Regions from separate parts of the Homo sapiens genome. Here regions 1 and 2 are each linked to region 3. The links are contacts of gene promoters, found by promoter capture Hi-C in human tissues and cell types (Jung and others, 2019). All regions are on one chromosome and are shown on one strand. Each heading gives the region's core, a stretch centred on a gene start or on the middle of the fragment in contact. The rest is flanking DNA. Distances are from core to core; before and after follow the strand shown.

Region 1 (2,932 bases), core at 216-2,715, 410 kb before region 3:
AGAAGGAAAACATCAAATAACACATGAAGGAGTTGATTGTTGTTGTATAACTGTATAAAGTGTTGGGAAGAAAAAAGGTAAGAGGGCTAAATTAGCAAGAAAATTGGAGAAGTTTGTATACAAGTAAAAACGACATGGATGGAGGCTGAAACAATGGAGGTAGAGGGATATGTTAGAACTTGGCATTGTTAGGCTAGTTATCCAGACAAAACAAAAACAAAATCAAAGATGTCTCCAAGGTTAAGACATTAGGGAACAAAGTGGAAATACCAGCCACTATAGGGAAGAAAAGAAAAGGAATAATTAGGGAATAAGCTATTTCTCACTTTAAATGGCAGCAAAACATTGGAGCGGAAAACCTGGACAGCTGGAGCTGGCAAGAAGCCTCGTAATCATTCAGACTGCTCATCCCAGAGATGAGGAGACTGGAGCACATACATTTCAATGAATTGCCTAGTCAGTGACACTTCTGGAACTACTATCTATATCTCTTGGGTTGTGTTTTATACCAAGTTGCCTTGTCAATGCCTTATAGACAATGAATGAAACAGAAGGGATATACTAGTGTTGTGGGTACCCCTGGAGCTAGAAGTCAGGATTCAGGATTATACTTACAGGGTGGAGAACCAAGGTTTGAGTATGAAGCGGAGTTCTGGAACTTCTCCTTTGTAACCTGGTGTATAACTATGGAGACATAATGGAAAGGACATTCAGGAAAGACCACTTAGCCAAAAGTTCCAACAGCAGTATTGTGCAACTGCAGGATGTTAGATGTGTGGGAGTTCCTGGGGAGCTCAAGCCAGAGGTGGGATGCACAAGTTCTGGGGCTAATCTTGAGGGTGTTTCATGTAGTTGTAATATACCTAAAAATTTTAAAGTGATCCTCTGGGAAGCCCAAGTATGGCTAATATGGGCCATACTTATGATTGGGCCAGATGTTTCAGTTGCCTTTGTCATCCTGACTAGAAATTTAGAAATTAGCTTGGTTAACTTGGCAACTTCCAGTGAACCCTCACATAATAATAGAGAAGTCTCTGGGGCCTTAGTTCTGTCAGCTGGTCAGAAGCCAAGCTTGGCTATTTTGAGAGTTTGATGGCCTCTCAGGGAGAAGAAGTAGGGATGATGACTGTCATTAATAGTCAATGACTCCAAGGGTTGATCTTGACTCTTTAGGACTATATTGGACAATCTTTCCCTATTCTGAGTTTCCCTGAGTTTCAGAACATCTCTGATTTGGTTCAGCTGTGTCTCCATGCAAATCTAATCTCGAATTGTAGCTCCTATAATTCCCTTGTGTTGTGGGAGGAACCCAGTGGGAGATAATTGCATCATGGGGGCAGTTTCCCCCATGCTGTTCTTGTAGCAGTGAATAAGCCTCACAAGATCTGATGGTTTAATAAGGGGAAGCCCCTTTCACTTGGCTGTCATTATTCTCTTGTCTGCCACCATGTAAGATGTGCTTTTCACCTTCTGCCATGATTGTAAGGCCCTGCTCAGCCACGTGGAACTGTAAGTACATTAAACCTCTTTCTTTTGTAAATTGCGCAGTCTATCAGCAGTAGGAAAACAGACTAATACAATCTCCTAGGGCCTCATAGAAAACCTTCTTTGTGAGCTATGTTTGACGGGGAGCTTCCAGCTCTGCTTAGCAGTTCTCAACAAGCTTTTCTGGGCTGGACCATCATGTCATTTGCCAGCCTCTTAACTAGAGAAGTCATCTGAAACTGGCTTATAAATGCACAGATTAGTAACATATTAGGGTTGGTTTCAGAGGGCTTGTTAAAAAAATAATTTCAGTGGCAGTATGCCTAGTAGGTAAGTGCACTCAGACTTGACTTTGGCCCTACTAGTTTTGTGATCTTGGGCAAATTGTTTAGCCCTTTTGAATTTCAATTTCTTCACCTGTAAAATGGACATAATAAAAATATTTATCTCATTGAGATTTGAGGATAATTGTGATCATGTATATGAGGTGCTTAACACTGGATAAACTCACTGGGAAGAATTTATTAAGAATTCACTAAATTAAATGTTATTATTTTTCTAACTTCTGGTAAGTTAAGGGCCTGGGCTGCATTTGAAGAATCCCTCAAAATTTTCAGTCCTGGAGTGCTGTGCATCTTTGACCAGCAACCTGGTTAAAATGTCATGAGACCACAGGTAGCCTGAGATGAAGCTCTTAAAACGTAGCAGGAAAAATATCCCCAGGCCTAAAGGAAACCCACTGATTCAAGTCTCCATGAATTCAGAAGGAAGAAAGAACAGGAAAGCAAGAGGTGAACTTAGCACCAGTTCCAAAGAAATAGGGTCTGTGAGTCGCTGTGAGGCTCTAAACCCTGGAATTAACTGGTCCCAAACATTGCATTACCAGGAATCTCAAGGACGAGATCTTTGGGTCTGGGCACTAATAGGAACAAAAGTATTTGGATGTCTAGGGGAGAGAGAAGTTTAGAAAATAGTCAAGCTTAAGTGGCCCAGAGATAAGAGGAAGGGACAATGCCAAGTGTTCTTAGGCAGTGAAGATAGTGGGCTTCAATAAAGGATAGGAAGAGGAAGCTTTGCTTATTGGGGAAACCCAGGAGCCAGGGCCCTGACATTTTAAGAAATCACTGAAAGCCAATTCCTGATATAGTCTGGGTAGTGTTTCTGGAGACATGGACCACTGTGGGATAAAGGCTGGGGTATTATTCCAAACTGCCAGGCCTGGTTGGTGGGACTGGTGATGCAGCACAGGGGAAGACCTGAAAGTTCTCGGAGATTCTGAACACAGAGAGCGTTCTTGCTGACCATGGACGTGTTAAGAATAACAACAGTGTCCTCAACAAAATACTAGCAAACTGAATTCAACAATACATTAAAAGATCATTCATTATGACCAAGTAAGATTTATCCCAAGGATGCAAGGATGGCTCAACATATACAAATCAATCAA
Region 2 (3,075 bases), core at 534-3,033, 300 kb after region 3:
TGGACTTTGAATGGTTCTCCCTCTAGCATGGAGACTGGCTTCCCAGGAGGACACAAAAACCACCATCCTCTTAAGGCCTGGGCTCAGAAGCCTCAGAATGTCACTTTCACTGAGTTTTATTGTTCAAAGCAAGTCACAAAAGCAGCAGGACCCAAAGGGATGGGAAATAAACCCTACCTCTTGATGAGATGAACAGTGTGTCTGCACAAAGTGAGAGGCACTAGTAGCTGCCATCTTTGGAGACTATGTACCATGGGGGTTCCTAAATGTGTCTACATGTTAGAATCATCTGGGGATCTTTTTAAAACTATAAGCATCCAGGCCACTCCCCAAGCCAATTAATTCACAATCTCTGGGAGTAGAACACAAGCATTTCGTTAAGCTCTCCAGGTGATTCCAATCTGCGGACAAGTCTGGGAATCCCTGATCCACCATAAGTTGTGAGAAAAGAGATTTAGAAAAACTGAAGGCTCTAGCTGGCATTGCCTCTGTTACATGTGGTTACCTGTCATTTCACAGTATGCTCAATGGCTTGTCTTAAAACACACCAGGAGTTTAAAAGTTAGACTACACACCAATCACTTTAAATTACATTAAAGCTGCCATAGTAAACTAGCTTAGTATGCCTTTTAGGGTGACCAACTTTCCAGTTTGTCTGGGACTGAGTGGTTTCCTAGGACACAAGACTTTCAGTGCTAAAATCAGGATGGTCTGGGTCAAACTGGTGCAGCTGGTCAGCCTAGCATTGCCTTATCTCCCTCTGGTGGACTAGTCATGTTCTGATGAATTTTATTTCTGAAATGCAGTTCCATTATCCTCACCTGAGTCTTCTCAAAATTAGCTATCTAGGCCAGTGCTGCCTGAAGTATGTTCCACAGACTTGCAGCATCAGCATCACCTGGGAGCCTTTGTTAGAAATGGAAATTTGGAGGGGGGGTGGTTCTCTAGACACTGAGTCAGAATCTCTGGGAGTGGGACCCAGAAATCTGTGTTTTGAAAACCATGAATTTAAGAAGCACTGATCTGGGCTGCCATGCTTTCATCTTCCTCTGTCTCTACTATCCCACATATGGCAAAATCATATTTCTGTATTGCAACAGGCATATAAAAAGCATAGCAGGATGAGTCAATCAATGCTGACTGGCCAGAGATGCCCTGTCAAAGAGCAGCCTCAGCTGCAGACACATACATGATAATCATCATCTGGGGCTTAGTTTTTGTCAGTCATTTGTCTGAGGGGCTGCATGAAACTTTTTTACATCCACAGTAGGGGCTAGAGTGTGGAATGAGGGAGGAGCTGAGCACAGCTGCCTGCAGTTGCTAAGGCCTGTCTCTTTCAGGACACACTAAAACTGTCAATACAAGTGAGCAAATTTTTCTCTGACATGGAAAGAAAAAACTCTTCCTTAAAGTTAAGCAGAAAATCAAGCTTTATCTTTGACTGGATGCTTGATTTTTAATGGGAATTTATAGCAAAAATCATTCAGGTTTCAGTAATTTGGAAATCATGCTCTTTTGAATTAGCTTGGAATGAAGTTTACCTAAGTGCAATGAAGAGTTCTGTCTAGCAAATTAGTATCCTAACATTTTAACTGCCTTAAAAGAAAAACAGGGTTTTTTTAAGGACTTACCTGTTTATATTCAATGGATGTTAATAACTACATGTGAGGTCTTATACATGAAAGAAGAGACTAATGCAAAACACTTTTTAAGTATAATAACGCATGAATTGGAAGTAAAACAAAGATATTTATTAAAACACACACACCGTAATTGAGACTTTTTGCTAATTCAGACTGTTCTCCCTGCATATAGGACAAATTTCTTACTAGGATTTCTTCACCAGTCAATTAACATGTAACTTGATCCCTAGTACACTGAAGCAAATGAAAATTAAAAGGCCCTCTTCAAAACTCACTTTTCATAAACTTTGGCTCTTATTTCTCATGTGTTTCACAAACCTCATATTTAAAGTCGAAGAAAATGATCAGTAAACCTATTTTTCTCCTACATAAGACAATATAATCAAAGTTATTGTGGTAACAGGTCTGTGGAGGTAGGGTGCTCTTTCAGTACTTCTGAACCACTACAGCCAAAATCATCCTCTTGCTGCACTGCATGTCTGGCAGGAGGTCTTTGCGCTGCCCTGCCCAGATATTCTGTGGGCAGCAGAAATACTTACTGTAATAGTATCTTACACAAAGATAAAAACACAGAAGTAGATTAGGTAAATACATGTTGTTCTGGGCAACAAACTCATTTTCCCACATTATAACTACGTGACAAGTCTGTGAAGTTTACTTTCCTTGACTAAATTTTATAAAAAAAAAAAAAGAACCCATATATCTTAAATAAATAACCATAAGCAAATTTTAATCAATGATGTATTCTGTATGAGAAGATGTCTAAATATTTGATAAATGACCAATTACAGTTGGTCATCTTTGGGGAAATGTAAATAAGTCATTCAGTTTTTAAGGAGGATAAAGTGATTCCTGTATTTTTTCTCTAGTCAAGAAAAACATCCAGTTGACTGGACAAGCTTCGTAAAACTGTGCTATCTGAAGGTTCTTCTACCAGATCCTCCACTTCCCAGTTGCACAAGCATAGACAATCAACCTAATGTCTATCACCAATCCCTCTTCCCAGGGAAACCATCATGGTCCTCACCTGGGCTTTGCCTCCAGGCCAGTGCTAAAATTGAGTCCCAGAGATCAGAATGGTTGCACAAACCCACCTGAATGCAAGAGTTGTCCATGTATCTACAGAAAACAAAGGTCCCAACAGGGAAGCTAAACTTGGCCATCAAACCCAAGCAATGAACTCACAGAATCAAACCCCATGCCCACAAAGGTGGCAAACTAGATCCCTGAATGGGAACAGTGTACAAAAGGGCTGGAAGGACAAATCATGGCAGTGTCCTGCATGAGACACTTTTGCCTTCGTTATAGAGGCATCTGCTCAATGGAGTCTTAGATTTCATTTATAAAATGGGTGTAGTATCTCTACCTATCTCATAAAGTTGTGAAAATCAAATGAAATAATTAAAAGTAAACATTATTTGTAAACTGTAAA
Region 3 (3,314 bases), core at 466-2,965:
GAGGGGTGCACCTGTCTTGGCTCTGTGATCTGTCAGATCACTCGGCCTCAAAACCAAAAGAGACGAGAGTAGACCTGGAAAGACTGGGAAGACGCGTGGCTGGGCTGCTGGGTCCACGCCATAGAGGACCGAAGCGAGCGCCGCTGTTCCAGGCTAGCAAAACCAGAGGAACTTACTTCTGAGTTCAAGAGAGCGGGTTGAAAGGGCCCTTCTAAACATAATTCACGAGGGGATGAATTACAGATGGTTTCCCCACCGACTTCCAGAACCACTTACTTAAGGTGCCCGAATGCGCTGAGCACTCTTAACTGCCTCGAGAACTTTGGCTGCACGCGGAAAGGGTTCATCTCCGAGTTGTTTAGCTGACTACGGATGCGCGTCCTAGACGCGCCCGCTGTCCTGGCGGGCTCCCTTGATCGTCCCGGAGAGGCTAGGGATCCGCACGCAAAGGGTCCCCGCCAGTGCCCATCCCAACCACCCAGTGCCCGACTCCGGTAGCGTGGGCTGGGGTTCAAGCCTGTACCTTGTCGTAGGCGCCCCACGACAGCTCGGTCTCGATGACCATGACCACGATGCCGAACATGCCGAAGATGAGCGCGTAGTCGCTGAGCCGCTTGCGCTTTTCGAACAGGGCGCGCCGGTGGCCCAGCTTGTAGCCGATGTTCTGGTTTTTCTTTTTGCTGGACTTGGTGCCACTGCTGCTGCCGTGCCCGCTCCCGCCACCGCCGCCGCCTCCTCCAGTGCTGCCTCCGCCGCCGGTTCCATAGAGCGCCAGGTTGTTGGAGTTGTTGTGCTCGGGCTTAGACACCACGATCTCGGGGGCTGAGGACGAAACAGCGGCGGCGGCGGCAGCGGCTGCAGACGGGGAGGACGCGCCGCCACCTCCTCCGACAGACGCGGGGGGCTGCAGGGGCTGCGCCTCTGAGTCCATCTCGTGCAGGTTCCGGCGGGACGCGCTCAAGTTGCTGAGCGGCCGCATGACGCCCCCGTTGTACCTGCAGCTGCTCATGGCTATTTCGGTGAAGGGGTTGCTCTCGCGGCGCGCCTGGGGCTGGTGGTGCTGGTGGTGCGCCGGGTGCGGGTGGTGGTGGTGGTGCGAGAGCGGGGGCCCGGAGCCCAGACTGCCGAGGCTGCCCGTGGGGCTGGCGGCGGGCTGCAGGCTGTGGCACTGGTGGTACTGGGAGGCGGACGCCGACTGCTGCGCGGACTGCTGCGCGTACTGCTGCCGGAGCGCACTGGCATGGCTGGACGGCGTCAGCTCGCTCACATTGAGCTGGCTGCCCCGGCGCGACGAGCAGCAGCAGCAGCAGCAGGACGAGCCCGACAGCGGCGAGGAGGTGCGGGTCCGGAAGGCGCCGCCGGGCGAGGAGGTGCGGAGCAGCAGGGACAGGTTATCTCCCGCCCCCGCCGCCGGGGCACCGGAGGAGGCGCAGCTGTTGCACCGGAGGCATGGGCTGCTGCCGCCGCTGGCCGGCTGCTGGTGCGCGAGGTGCGGGTGGTGGTGAGGGTGCGGGAGGGGCGCGAAGGGCGGGCACGGCTTGTCCTGGCTCTGTTGCTGCTGCTGGCAATGCAGGTGTGAGGAGCGCGGCGGCGGCGGCGGCTGCTCTGGGAAGAAGCCGCGCTGGAACTGCAATGGGGTTTCCATGTCAGGGCTGTTAAAGCTGCAGGGAGACCAAGCGGTGGTGCACCCTGCGCAATGCGTTATGGTCGGGAGCGGGGACTCCTGCTGCTGGTGCGAGGAAGGGCCCATGCCGGCTCCGGTAGAATCCAGGCGGCGAGTCCGATTGGTTGGGCGCACCAAAACAATGGGCATGACATCACCTGCGGGGACCGAGACTGAGTTTGCGGCGCGCGCGGCTTAGGGAAGCGTGTGTGGCAGAGAAAGATGGGGAGGGGAATCTGCAGGACAAACCCTAGGGGGGTGCAGTCCAGAGCCAGGGCGCTCCAGGGCAGGGATTCCGCCTGCTGATTGCGTGGAGATGGAGAGCCCCCACGCAGTGCAGCTGGGCTGCAGGGGGAGGAGAAAAGAGAAAGGCGCCCCTCCCTCCCGTGCCGCTGCCCCCTTGACTAGTGCCGGACGCGCTGCCCGGATCACCTGCGCCAGCCACTGCAGCACGTCGGGCCACCTTGGCCGGGGGCAGGCTCAGGGACGGTGTGGAACCCCGACCACTTCTCCGACTGCACGCCTCGCAGGGCTGCAAAACAGCAGCCCCCTCGTCCCACGCCCGCTTCTCCCAGATCATCCCGCCGAGAGTGGGCTGCCGGCTGCCCGCCAAGTAACTGCGGGGGCACTGGCTTTGGGGAGAAAAAGTTTGGCGACCGGCTGCGCCAGTGCAGCAGCGTGTGGGGAGAATCCCGGGGCCTGAGCCCTGCCTTGGCCGCTGCGGGATCATAGCCGACCCCGAGACCGGATCTTTCCCAGCCGGCAGGCTCTGGAATCTGGATTGGGTGCGCGGCGCTCTAGCCCAAGTGCGCTGCGGCGCGGGTAGGGTTAACCGCCTCGGCACCCCGGCCGGGGGTGGGTGGGGGCGGGGCCGGAGGAGGGGATCCCCGCAGTCTGCCGACAGAGCCGGCCGGGCTTCCCGGGTCCCCCCTGGCGGGGGCGGAGGGCTTTCCCCGCTACCGCCAGCTCACATTTGCGCCTTCTCCAGAACATGAGGGGATGGCGCCCCCGGCCGCCGGGTCCTGGGCTCTGGCGCTCAGGCCCTCCGGCAGCCCGAATCCGGAGGTCCCAGGGCTTCCTTGCCGGTGGAGAGGCAGGCGGCTCGCTCAAAGGTGTGGGGGCTGCTCAGCCACCGCCGGCCTCCAGCTGCTCTTCTGCTTCTCTTCCTCCTCCTCACCTGCAGCGCAGACACAAAGCAAAGACCGGTCACAAATACGCAAATATCGAGCATCTTTGCCAAGTCCTAACTGCAGCGGCGGGTGGGAAAGGGGCCTGGCGCGGGCTGATTCACCCCGGTAGTCGCAGCCTGGCAGGGAAATTAAGAATGATAGCTTGGGCTGAATAGTCGCTGCCCACGGACAGTGCTGGAGTTTTGTTGGAGTTCGGTATCATTATTTATTTATTTACTCTCTAATAAACTAACAAAAATTGCATTTGGTGTCTCACAAATTCCCTGTGCTGTCTTCTTCTAAGAGATGTACCAACACAATGCACTAGGTGATCCTTATGTTCTTTGTTTCTGCTCCATCTTAAGTCTTTACATTTGCATTTCTTTGTGAATTCAAATTCCCGTCTCCCCCTAAAGAAGGTGAAAGAAATTGGCCCGTTGAATATTTGTTTCCATTTTAAATTATTTTAAAGCCTGCTTTTC

The links. The method cuts DNA at HindIII sites, captures the fragments that hold promoters and counts their contacts. A contact is called where the count stands out against the background at its distance.
Region 1: a contact is called between a fragment that was not itself captured here and the fragment with the promoter of KCNN2 in region 3, in 1 of the 25 tissues and cell types used here (dorsolateral prefrontal cortex).
Region 2: a fragment that was not itself captured here is called in contact with the fragment with the promoter of KCNN2 in region 3 in 1 of the 25 tissues and cell types used here (aorta).

The regions. Positions count from the first base shown.
Region 1 is chr5:114,771,208-114,774,139 of GRCh38, reverse strand. It overlaps LOC101927078 (a long non-coding RNA gene), which reads left to right and starts at 727. Exons shown (of 13, transcript NR_130785.1): 1 at 727-805. The HindIII fragment of the contact is 3,867 bases long and covers 1-2,932 here.
Region 2 is chr5:114,061,360-114,064,434 of GRCh38, reverse strand. It overlaps a transcript of KCNN2 not described here. Among named protein-coding and RNA genes, the nearest start is that of KCNN2, 300 kb to the left of the region's middle. The HindIII fragment of the contact is 4,033 bases long and covers 1-3,075 here.
Region 3 is chr5:114,360,471-114,363,784 of GRCh38, reverse strand. It overlaps KCNN2 (potassium calcium-activated channel subfamily N member 2), which reads right to left and starts at 1,715. Exons shown (of 8, transcript NM_021614.4): 1 at 524-1,715. The coding sequence starts at 1,645. RefSeq lists a silencer at 2,438-2,647 and an enhancer at 2,686-3,314. The HindIII fragment of the contact is 16,034 bases long and covers 1-3,314 here.